2 separate regions of the Homo sapiens genome follow, and region 2 is linked to region 1. Evidence: promoter capture Hi-C in 16 types of primary human blood cells and fetal thymus (Javierre and others, 2016). All regions are on one chromosome and are shown on one strand. Each heading gives the region's core, a stretch centred on a gene start or on the middle of the fragment in contact. The rest is flanking DNA. Distances are from core to core; before and after follow the strand shown. Region 1 holds the start of PIK3R5 (phosphoinositide-3-kinase regulatory subunit 5). Region 2 holds the start of KRABD2 (KRAB domain containing 2).

Region 1 (4,240 bases), core at 186-2,685:
AGTTGCTTTTTCTTGGTATTTCGGGAGTCAGGAAAAGAAAAGTCATTGGTGTTCATATCTCTCAAAGCCTCAGGTAGGGCTGCGGCTTTTGACCAACAATAACGTATGACCATGACCTTGTGGCCGAGTTTGCACGCCTCTAACAGATATTATGACACAGTTCCATTCAATAGTGGAAGTGGAGATTTCAGCGTTGCCCTTTGTTAACCCACAAATGAAGTGCTACTCTTCCATTGTGAGGGCTGTCGGAGCAGTAGCCAACCTTCTTATCCCCATTTTTTAAACGAGGGAAAGGAGGCATAGGAAGCGCAGTGTCTTGTGGGATTCCCTGGGGAGTCCTTCCAACTCTTGGTAGAGCATCATCTGCAACGTCGTCTGGGGGAGAAAAGGGGGAGGCAAGAAGAGGGCCTTGACCCTGGAGGCAGGAACTCCCGCACACCCTCACTCCCTTCCCCAGGGGCTGGGGAAACCACTCAGGTGACAGTAGCCTTGGTGCCGGCCAGGGAGGGCGGGAAGTCCAGCCAGAGGCTGGAACAGCAGTGCTGAACGCCGGGACTGGCTGGTATTTCTATGAAGGTTCCTGCAGAAGGATGCGGGTCAAGGTGCCCGTCTGCACAGCAGTAGTGCAGGCATTTTAAGGGTTAAGGGCACCCAAAGAAAATAGAAGTAGGGGCCGGGCGCAGTGGCTCACGCCTGTAATCCCAGCACTTTGGGAAGCCGAGGCGGGCGGATCACGAGGTCAAGAGATCGAGACCATCCTGGCCAACATGGTGAAACCCCGTCTCTAGTAAAAATACAAAAAATTGGGCGTGGTGGCGCGCGCCTGTAGTCCCAGCTACCCGGGAGGCTGAGGCAGGAGAATCGCTTGAACCCGGGAGGCGGAGGTTGTGGGGAGTCAAGATCGTGCCACTGCACTCCAGCCTGGCGACAGAGCGAGACTCCATCTCAAAAAAAAAAAAAAAAAAAAGAAAGAAAATAGAAGTAGGAAGAGGAAGTGGGTCGCAGTGAGAGAAGGAAGCAGCTCGTCGGAGCTTCCTCTTTCTCGTCTTTCCCCTAAGCCCCTACCCCAGACCTGCCCCCCTGCTCCGCCCAGCCCTCCTGCGGGGCCAAAGCCGCGCTTCCGACGCGGGGGCCTAACCTCCCCTTACTCCTTGGGGGTCGCTGGTGCTCCGCGCTGGTGCCCCTCGGGCCACTGCCATGGACCGGCCAGGGTCTGCTTCTTCCGAGGGCTGGCGGGTCAGAGCCGGGGCTGCTTCTCAGACGCCTTGCGGCCTCGGGGGCGTGACCCAGAGGATGTGGGGCCGGGCGCGCACCTGGCTGACGCTGCCGGGCCGCCAGGTGGCTGGAGAGGCCGGCTCCGCGGTCAGCCCCGCCCCATTAGGCCCCGCCCCCTGACAGGCTCCGCCCCGCCCGCCGGAGGAGCCCAGGCTGGGCAGATGCTGCGGCTCGCCGCGCGGCTCCAGCTGGGGCGCGGTGGTCCCGACGGTCACCCGAATCGCAGGGAGTCGCCGCTGGAGAGGGGCTCGGCGCCCGGCGGGGACTGCAGGTGTGTGACTGGGCGGCCAGGGCGGATGCGGAGGGCACGCATGGGAGCTCCAGGCAGAGCTGGAGCAAGCTGGGGACCGTCGGGGAGAGTGGGCTCCGCGAGCAGCCGCCGCAGCCCGAGGGCTGGACAGATCCTGCTATCTTCCGGCCCCGTGGACCTGGCCCACCGCGGGGGCAGCGGGTCTGCAAACCTGCGCTCCAGATAACCCCAGAGACTTAAGGGGCGTCGCGGGGACCACTTATCGTTATCCGGGTAACCTCTGCTGGGCGGCTCTGCGCAGCTGTGTCCTCAGCCTCCTGCCTCTGACACAGGACGCCCTGTGTCGTAGGGTCAGGTCCCCTGCCCGCTCCAGCGGGGAACTGTCCGTGAGCGTGGGCATCAGGGCTCTTGTGCCGTCAGAACCTGGGAGTCATGGAAGTGCCCGCGTAAGGCGCCCTCCGTCGAGCCTCACTCAGCCTGCTAGTTAGCCAGCCTTGGGCCCAGACGCGGCTGCTGTCCTAGAGAACTGCACGCTTTCTGCTCTCAGAGGATCTGTGTTTACACACTGGACATCCCCGCGTGACTCGTGTGTGTGTGTGTGTGTGTGTGTGTGTGGGCATGCGCATGTGCGCGTGCTGGCCCATCCCGGCCTGGGGTAAATACACAAAAAGTTCAGGTCAGTAGGAGGAAGGAGATTGTTCAGAAGGAAAAGGAAGGCGAGGTTAAAGCAGCAGGATGTGGTATAAAGCGAGTTAACAAGACTCGGAGTAGAGAGGAGGGGTGGGTTTAGGCAGAATAAGGGCTAAAAGTAGGCCAAGCCTGCCTCCAAGGTCCTCTCTGGACTGACACCCTCGTTTTCCTTCTGTGTCTTCTCATCCACCCCACACTTTCCTTCCTGCCCTCAGGACCACCTGTAAGGCACTGGCTCCCAGAGCTGACTGCAGGTAGGGCTCTCTTGGAGCCAACCCTACAACGTGGCTTTCCAGGGATGGGATCTGGAATCTGTAGTTTTCAAAACTTTGAATGAGCTCCTTAAGTGATGATGCTGAAGCCGTTGCTTGGGAACCATGCATGATGTGGAAAAGAGACCCAAGTTCCAACCGGATCCAGCTGTGTGACCTGCAGCATCACACTGTCCCCCAACCCAGCCTCAGTCTCCTGATTCATAAAATGGGCTGTCATACTGACCCATAGAGCTGTGTGGAATTATTATTATTATTATTATTGAGACAGGGTCTTGCTCTGTCACTCAGGCTGGAGTGCAGTGGCGTGATCATGGCTCACTGCAGCCTTAAATTCCCAGGCTCAAGCAATCCTCCGCCTCCGCCTCCCAAGTAGCTGGGATTACAGGTCAGCACCACGGCGCCCAGCTAATTTTTGTATTTTTTGTAGAGGCAGGGTTTTGCCATGTTGCCCAGGTTGGTCCCAAATTCCTTGAGCTCAAGCGATCCGTCTACCTTGGCCTTCCAAAGTGCTGGGATTATAGACATGAGCCACTGTGCCTGGCCCAGTGTGGAAAATTAAGTGAGGCATGTATGATGAGAACGGCTGCACGTGGGAGATGCTCCGTGGATGTTTGTAGAACGCTGGCTTCCGTGTTTCCTCGTTGTGGCTGTGGTGGTGTGGGTCTTTGCCTGTGGACCCGTGGAAGACAAAGAAGACAGTTTTGGATGGTCAAGCTACTTTCTTGCTTCAGGGCTCCCTCCCCTGCTTTTTGAAGCCTCACAAACCAGGACTGTGAGGGCAGGAAGGCTTGGGGTCTTTGTGTGCTGAGCCTCATTAGGGTTTTAAGAACCTCCCTCCTTTCATCTCTAGCTTACGAGAGGGATGATTCATTATCTTCCCTCCTCAGGCTGCAGTAGAAGCAGACAGTCTCTGCCTCCCTGCTTGCCTTTCCTCCCTCCCATTCACTGTTGATTATTGCCCTCAAGAATAACAGGTTGCCCAGCTACTCGAGAAGCTTAAGTGGGAGGATTGCTTGACCCCAGGAGTTCGAGGCTGCAGTGAGCTATGATCGCTTCACTGCGCTATAGCCTGGCAGACACAGAGAGACCCTATCTCAAGCAAACAGACAAACAAAAAAAAAAAAAGAAGAAGAAGAAGAAGAATAGGTTGGATGCTAACTGGTGGCACTGGGTGACAAGAGCATTTGGGGTTGATGTTGGCATGAGGATGAGAAGGCAGGGGTGCAGGCTGCTCCATACCCCTGTGTTAGCCATCCATCAGGGGCCTGCTGGCTGAGGAGTGGGAGAGGAGGAGAGCCAGGATCCTTTTTGCCTGGGTAGCCTAGAGTTTGGAAGCCCCAGCTTGGGTTCCACTGAGCACTCAAGCTGTGCTGACTTGGCCTTTCTTCAAAGATGCTCATCCCAAGGGACTGAGCTGCGTGGCCCTGTGGGACCTCTGAGAACCAGAATGCCTGTTTGGCCTCAGCTGGTGAGCTAAAAGCCTGAACCAATGTGTTAAGAAAGAAAGCTGGCCAGGCATAGTGGTTCATGCCTATAATCCCAGCACTTTGGGAAGCCAAGGCTTTGAGGCCAGGAGTTCGAGGCTGCAGTGAGCTATGATCGTGTCACTGCATTCCAGCCTGGGCAACAGAGTGAGACCCTGTCTTTACAAAAACAAAAAATAAAATTTAAAAAACAGAGAAAGCTCCTGGAAGAAGAAGATAGAGTGATCCTTAACAAGTCAAGGGAGAGGTGTTTAATTTGATTTTTG
Region 2 (4,280 bases), core at 1,363-3,862, 590 kb after region 1:
GGCATGAGCCACCATGCCTGTCCCATTATGTATATTGGGCGGAGGTTGCAGTGAGCCGAGATCGCACCATTGCACTTCAGCCTAGGCAACGAGTGAAAACGCCATCTCAAAAAAAAAAAAAGAAAAAAAATAAAGACCTTAACTGATCTTCCCTTACTTCTGACATCTTTTTCCATTCTATATGTTCTAGTCTGCTCGCCTCCTAGCAACTTGGTAGAATTATAAATTCTAAGAGCCCAGGCCTACTGAGGCAAAATTAGGGCTTATGACCCAGGTGTATGTTTTAATAAGCCCTCCAGTTGATTCTTACTCAAGTTTGAGAAACACATCTATGAAACTTGATAATCTCCTGCCTTTGAACCTTTCAACTTGCTGTTCTCTTCCAGATACCTGTGCATAGATAGATTGCTCACCACTTTAGGTCTCTGTTCAAATGTAGGGCTTTGCTTGATCACTCTAGAAAGCCCCTCGGCCTCCTCACACTTGCCTTCTTACTCTATCAAAGTGATGTAGATTCACTTGTAAATGTTTTCGGGCTCCCTATACTAGAATATGAGTTCAGTGACTGTGGAGATTTTTGTTTGGTCTGCATGCTGTATTTCCAGCACCTCTTTTCACCCTTTCCTCGCATTCATAAGACTAAAATTTATCATAATTTGGATGTCTTTTAGGATTGGAACTGTTGGAGTAAGATCGTATTGTCATCTTCTCACTAAAGATTTTGCAGGTGGAATTATGTGTGGATGCTACCTTTAATTTCTAGCATTAAAATTCTGAAGTTACTTTATTATTTTTCTGTTTGGGGGTGGGGTTTTTTTTGTTTTGGACAGAGTTTTGCTCTTGTCGCCCAGCCTGGAAGTGCAATGGTGCGATCTCAGCTCACTGCAACCTCTGCTTCCTGGGTTCAAGCGATTCTCCCGCAGTAGCCTCCTGAGTAGGCATTCACCACACCCTGCTGTTTTGTTACTTGTTTGTTTTTTGAGATGGAGTCTCGATTGATCGCCCAGGCTGGAGTGCAATAATAGCACCATCTCAGCTCACTGCAGCCTCCGCCCCCCCAGGGTTCCAGAGATTCTCCTGCCTCAGCCTCCCAGGTAGCTGGGATTACAGGCATGTGCCACCATACCCAGCTAATTTTTGTATTTTTAGTAGAGAAGGGGTTTCACCGTGTTGGCCAGACTGGTCTCAAACTCCTGACCTCAGGTGATCCGCCTGCCTCTGCCTCCCAAAGTGCTGGGATTGGGGGCATGAACCACCGCACCCAGCCTGAAGTTACTTTGGAAACAAATATATTTGTATATGACAGCTTGTAAAACTGTAGTGAGAAGAGCAGAATCATATATTTCTCAGTGAAAAAGAAACAAATCTTATAATGAAGCACAGAAGAGGCTTTAAGAATTACTGATACCATCTTGCCTTTTCTCCTTTGTTGGTAGGAAATTAGTAAATAAGCCAGGTTTGATGGCTAAAGAGTGATTTCTGGAGTTTTTTAAAAGTTAAAATCTTTTCTTATTAGGCATCCACCTACCCCAGGTTTGGGAAATGGTATTGAATGTTGGGCTTTCCCTTGTGTTTTAGTGATTATTTAAAGCTTGGGAGTGTTTTTTTCTTATTTTTCTGCAGGTGGTTATCACTAGGCTAAAACTGGACAAAGACCGCAAAAAGATCCTCGAACGGAAAGCCAAATCTCGCCAAGTAGGAAAGGAAAAGGGCAAATACAAGGAAGAAACCATTGAGAAGATGCAGGAATAAAGTAATCTTATATACAAGCTTTGATTAAAACTTGAAACAAAGAGCCTGTGTTTTGTGTGTGGTGATTTAGGACACTCCCTAGTTTTCAGTGGATCAGTCTCTTACCTCTGATTTGTTGGTCTAAAATTTTTCTGAAATCAGGACTGATGAGATTTTTTTTATAGTGGGCAGCAGCATTTGAGGATATATCAGAAGCTGGAGGGGTGTCATTGAGAAGAAGAAGGCCTACAAGAAAAGCTAGTTGGAAACACTTCCTCTTGAACCTGTCTTTTAACTTGCTTACTATGGATAGGTTGCTATATGGACAGGCTATATTTTTTACCTTACTGCGTAAAAGTTTGTATTGCCATTGGATAGGAAGTCTTGCTTTCAATAGGATAAGAAGCTTCTGTGACTTTATAGCTTCTAGATGACTTCTTCAAGCTGTTCCTCCAGATTGAGAGGTCTCGGGTTCAGGTTATCTGATAGACCCATGGGCCCCCTTTACCTTGTTTTCTGCACAAGTGCTGGATGAGTGCCATCAAACCAAAACCTAACACGTCTTTGAGTTAAAATATAAACTAAACTGCAGCTTCGTCAGGATGAAGTGAAAAGGTGTGAGGTGGCAGCAGTGTGTGTGCTCCTGCCGTTCCTCATTTTAAGCATCTAAACAGGACACCTGAAGCCCGTTTACTTTCCAGGCTGGAGACTTGGCAACAACGTGGGAATGGGGAACGGGCCCGAGTTAAGTCACTGGCTTAGCCAAGGTCACAGCTGGCATCTGGGTGAACAGCGCTGCACGGTGTCCGCGGTGCCTCTAGGGGGCGGGGCTTCCGGCTGGCGCTGACCGGCTTCCGGCGGAGCGGGCGGGAGGTGGGGCGGAGTTGCTGCTCGGGGGCCTCTGGGTGGAGGGGGATTCAGACGCCGCGTCTGGTGTGTCCCTTTCTCCTTCCTGACCTTCCTCAGTCTGCAGCTCTTTTCTCCACCGCGCGCCCGCCTCAGCCGTTCAGCCCTGAGCTGGCGGGTGGACGGGCATGGATCCAGGCGGTGGGAGCAGTCTGCGAAGTCAGGGTAGGAAGGCTACACAAAGGAGGCGACATCCCAGCCCGGTCCTCAGGAATAAGCGGGCGTGCCCGTGTGGTGTGGACGGTGAGGGGACACTGTATTAAGTGCCTTATCTGCATTATCATTGAATCTTCATAGCAATCGATTGTGATGGGTACTGGTCATCTCCCCGGGTTGTAGATGAGGAAACTGAGGCCTCAGTAACTTTGCTTTAGTCAGTAAATGATAAGAGTCAGCAAATGAATTCCCAAGCGTAGACTCGGCCGTACCGCTGCTCTACCTTGCTAATAACGACCTACCTGTAAGCGACATTTTTGACAAAATGTCCTTTAAACATCTTTTGTGCTCAGCTCTGTATTCGTGGGCCCTCCAAAGGGGGTACAGGCAGGTAGAAGCCTCCGTCCCTACCTTATAGGTTGTATATATCTGAACTGGTCGACTAAAGATGCAAAGCGAAGTGCTCCAGTGAGTGTGGTACAGGTTGTTGAGATGAAGGAGAGATGGCAATCAGCTAAAGTTACTGAATACGTCAGGAAGGAGGCTGGTTTCAGCTGGCTGTGATTGGGAGGATCAATGCGAGGACATTCCGAGTCGGAAACAGCCAAGGCGAAGACTCACAGGTGGGTGAAGGGAGTAAACATGGCTTTGGAAATATTTCCAGTTTTCTCTGACCAACTCGTTTATCACCTAGCCGTCACATAGATCACACCAAGAAGCTGATTGATTTACGGTCACATTTCTTTCATGTTGCTTTGGAAAAGATACTGAAGCCTCGGGCAACATAATGAGACCCCGTCTCTACAAAAAAAAAAAAAAAAGAAAGAAAAGAAAAAATTAGCTGGGTCTGGTGACGCATGCCTGTAGTCCCAGCTACTTGGGAGGCTGCGGTAGGAGGATGCCTTGACCCTGGGAGCCGTGATCATGCCACTGTACTCTAGCCTGGGTGACAAAGTGAGACCCTACCCTCTCAAAAAAAAAAAAAATGAAAGAAAAAAGATATTGAAAGCTTAGAAATGTGCAGGAGTGGGCAAGTAAGATGAATAGGTTAGTAGGTCCCGACGTCCTGGGCTGCGTGCAGCCCACAGGCCACAGGTTGGACAAGCTTGATCCAAAGGAAGATGCCGCCTCTCCATCACAGCCAGTTATTGCCAGGCAGCAATGCCGCCAGTGCAGCCAGAATGTTGCCTTTTCAAGAAAGCCAGAAATCGAGGCTGGGTGCAGTGGCTCACGCCTGTAATCCCAGCACTTTGGGAGGCAGAGGCGGGTGGATCACGAGGTCAGGAGATCGAGACCATCCTGGCTAACACGGTGAAACCCCATCTCTAGTAAAAATACAAAAAATTAGCTGGGCCTGGTGGCAGGTGCCTGTAGTCCCGGCCACTCGGGAGGCTGAGGCAGGAGAATGGCGTGAACCCGGGAGGCGGAGCTGGCAGTGAGCCGGGATCGCGCCACTGCACTCCAGCCTGGATGACAGAGCAAAACTC

The links. Contacts are between HindIII fragments. The CHiCAGO score rates a contact against its expected background, and 5 or more counts as called.
Region 2: a contact is called between the fragment with the promoter of KRABD2 here and the fragment with the promoter of PIK3R5 in region 1, in 8 of 17 cell types (total CD8 T cells, total B cells, naive CD8 T cells and 5 more). The highest score is 6.6, in total CD8 T cells.

The regions. Positions count from the first base shown.
Region 1 is chr17:8,962,902-8,967,141 of GRCh38, reverse strand. It overlaps PIK3R5 (phosphoinositide-3-kinase regulatory subunit 5), which reads left to right and starts at 1,435. Exons shown (of 19, transcript NM_001142633.3): 1 at 1,435-1,546. PIK3R5-DT (PIK3R5 divergent transcript) reads right to left here and starts at 1,295. Exons shown (of 3, transcript NR_184080.1): 1 at 1,139-1,295; 2 at 1-375. RefSeq lists silencers at 1,022-1,121, 1,192-1,511. The HindIII fragment of the contact is 6,543 bases long and covers 1-3,487 here.
Region 2 is chr17:8,375,036-8,379,315 of GRCh38, reverse strand. It overlaps KRABD2 (KRAB domain containing 2), which reads left to right and starts at 2,612. Exons shown (of 2, transcript NM_001304947.3): 1 at 2,612-3,416. It overlaps RPL26 (ribosomal protein L26), which reads left to right. Exons shown (of 4, transcript NM_000987.5): 4 at 1,624-1,800. The coding sequence ends at 1,752. RefSeq lists a silencer at 2,478-2,677 and an enhancer at 2,422-2,973. The HindIII fragment of the contact is 1,665 bases long and covers 2,140-3,804 here.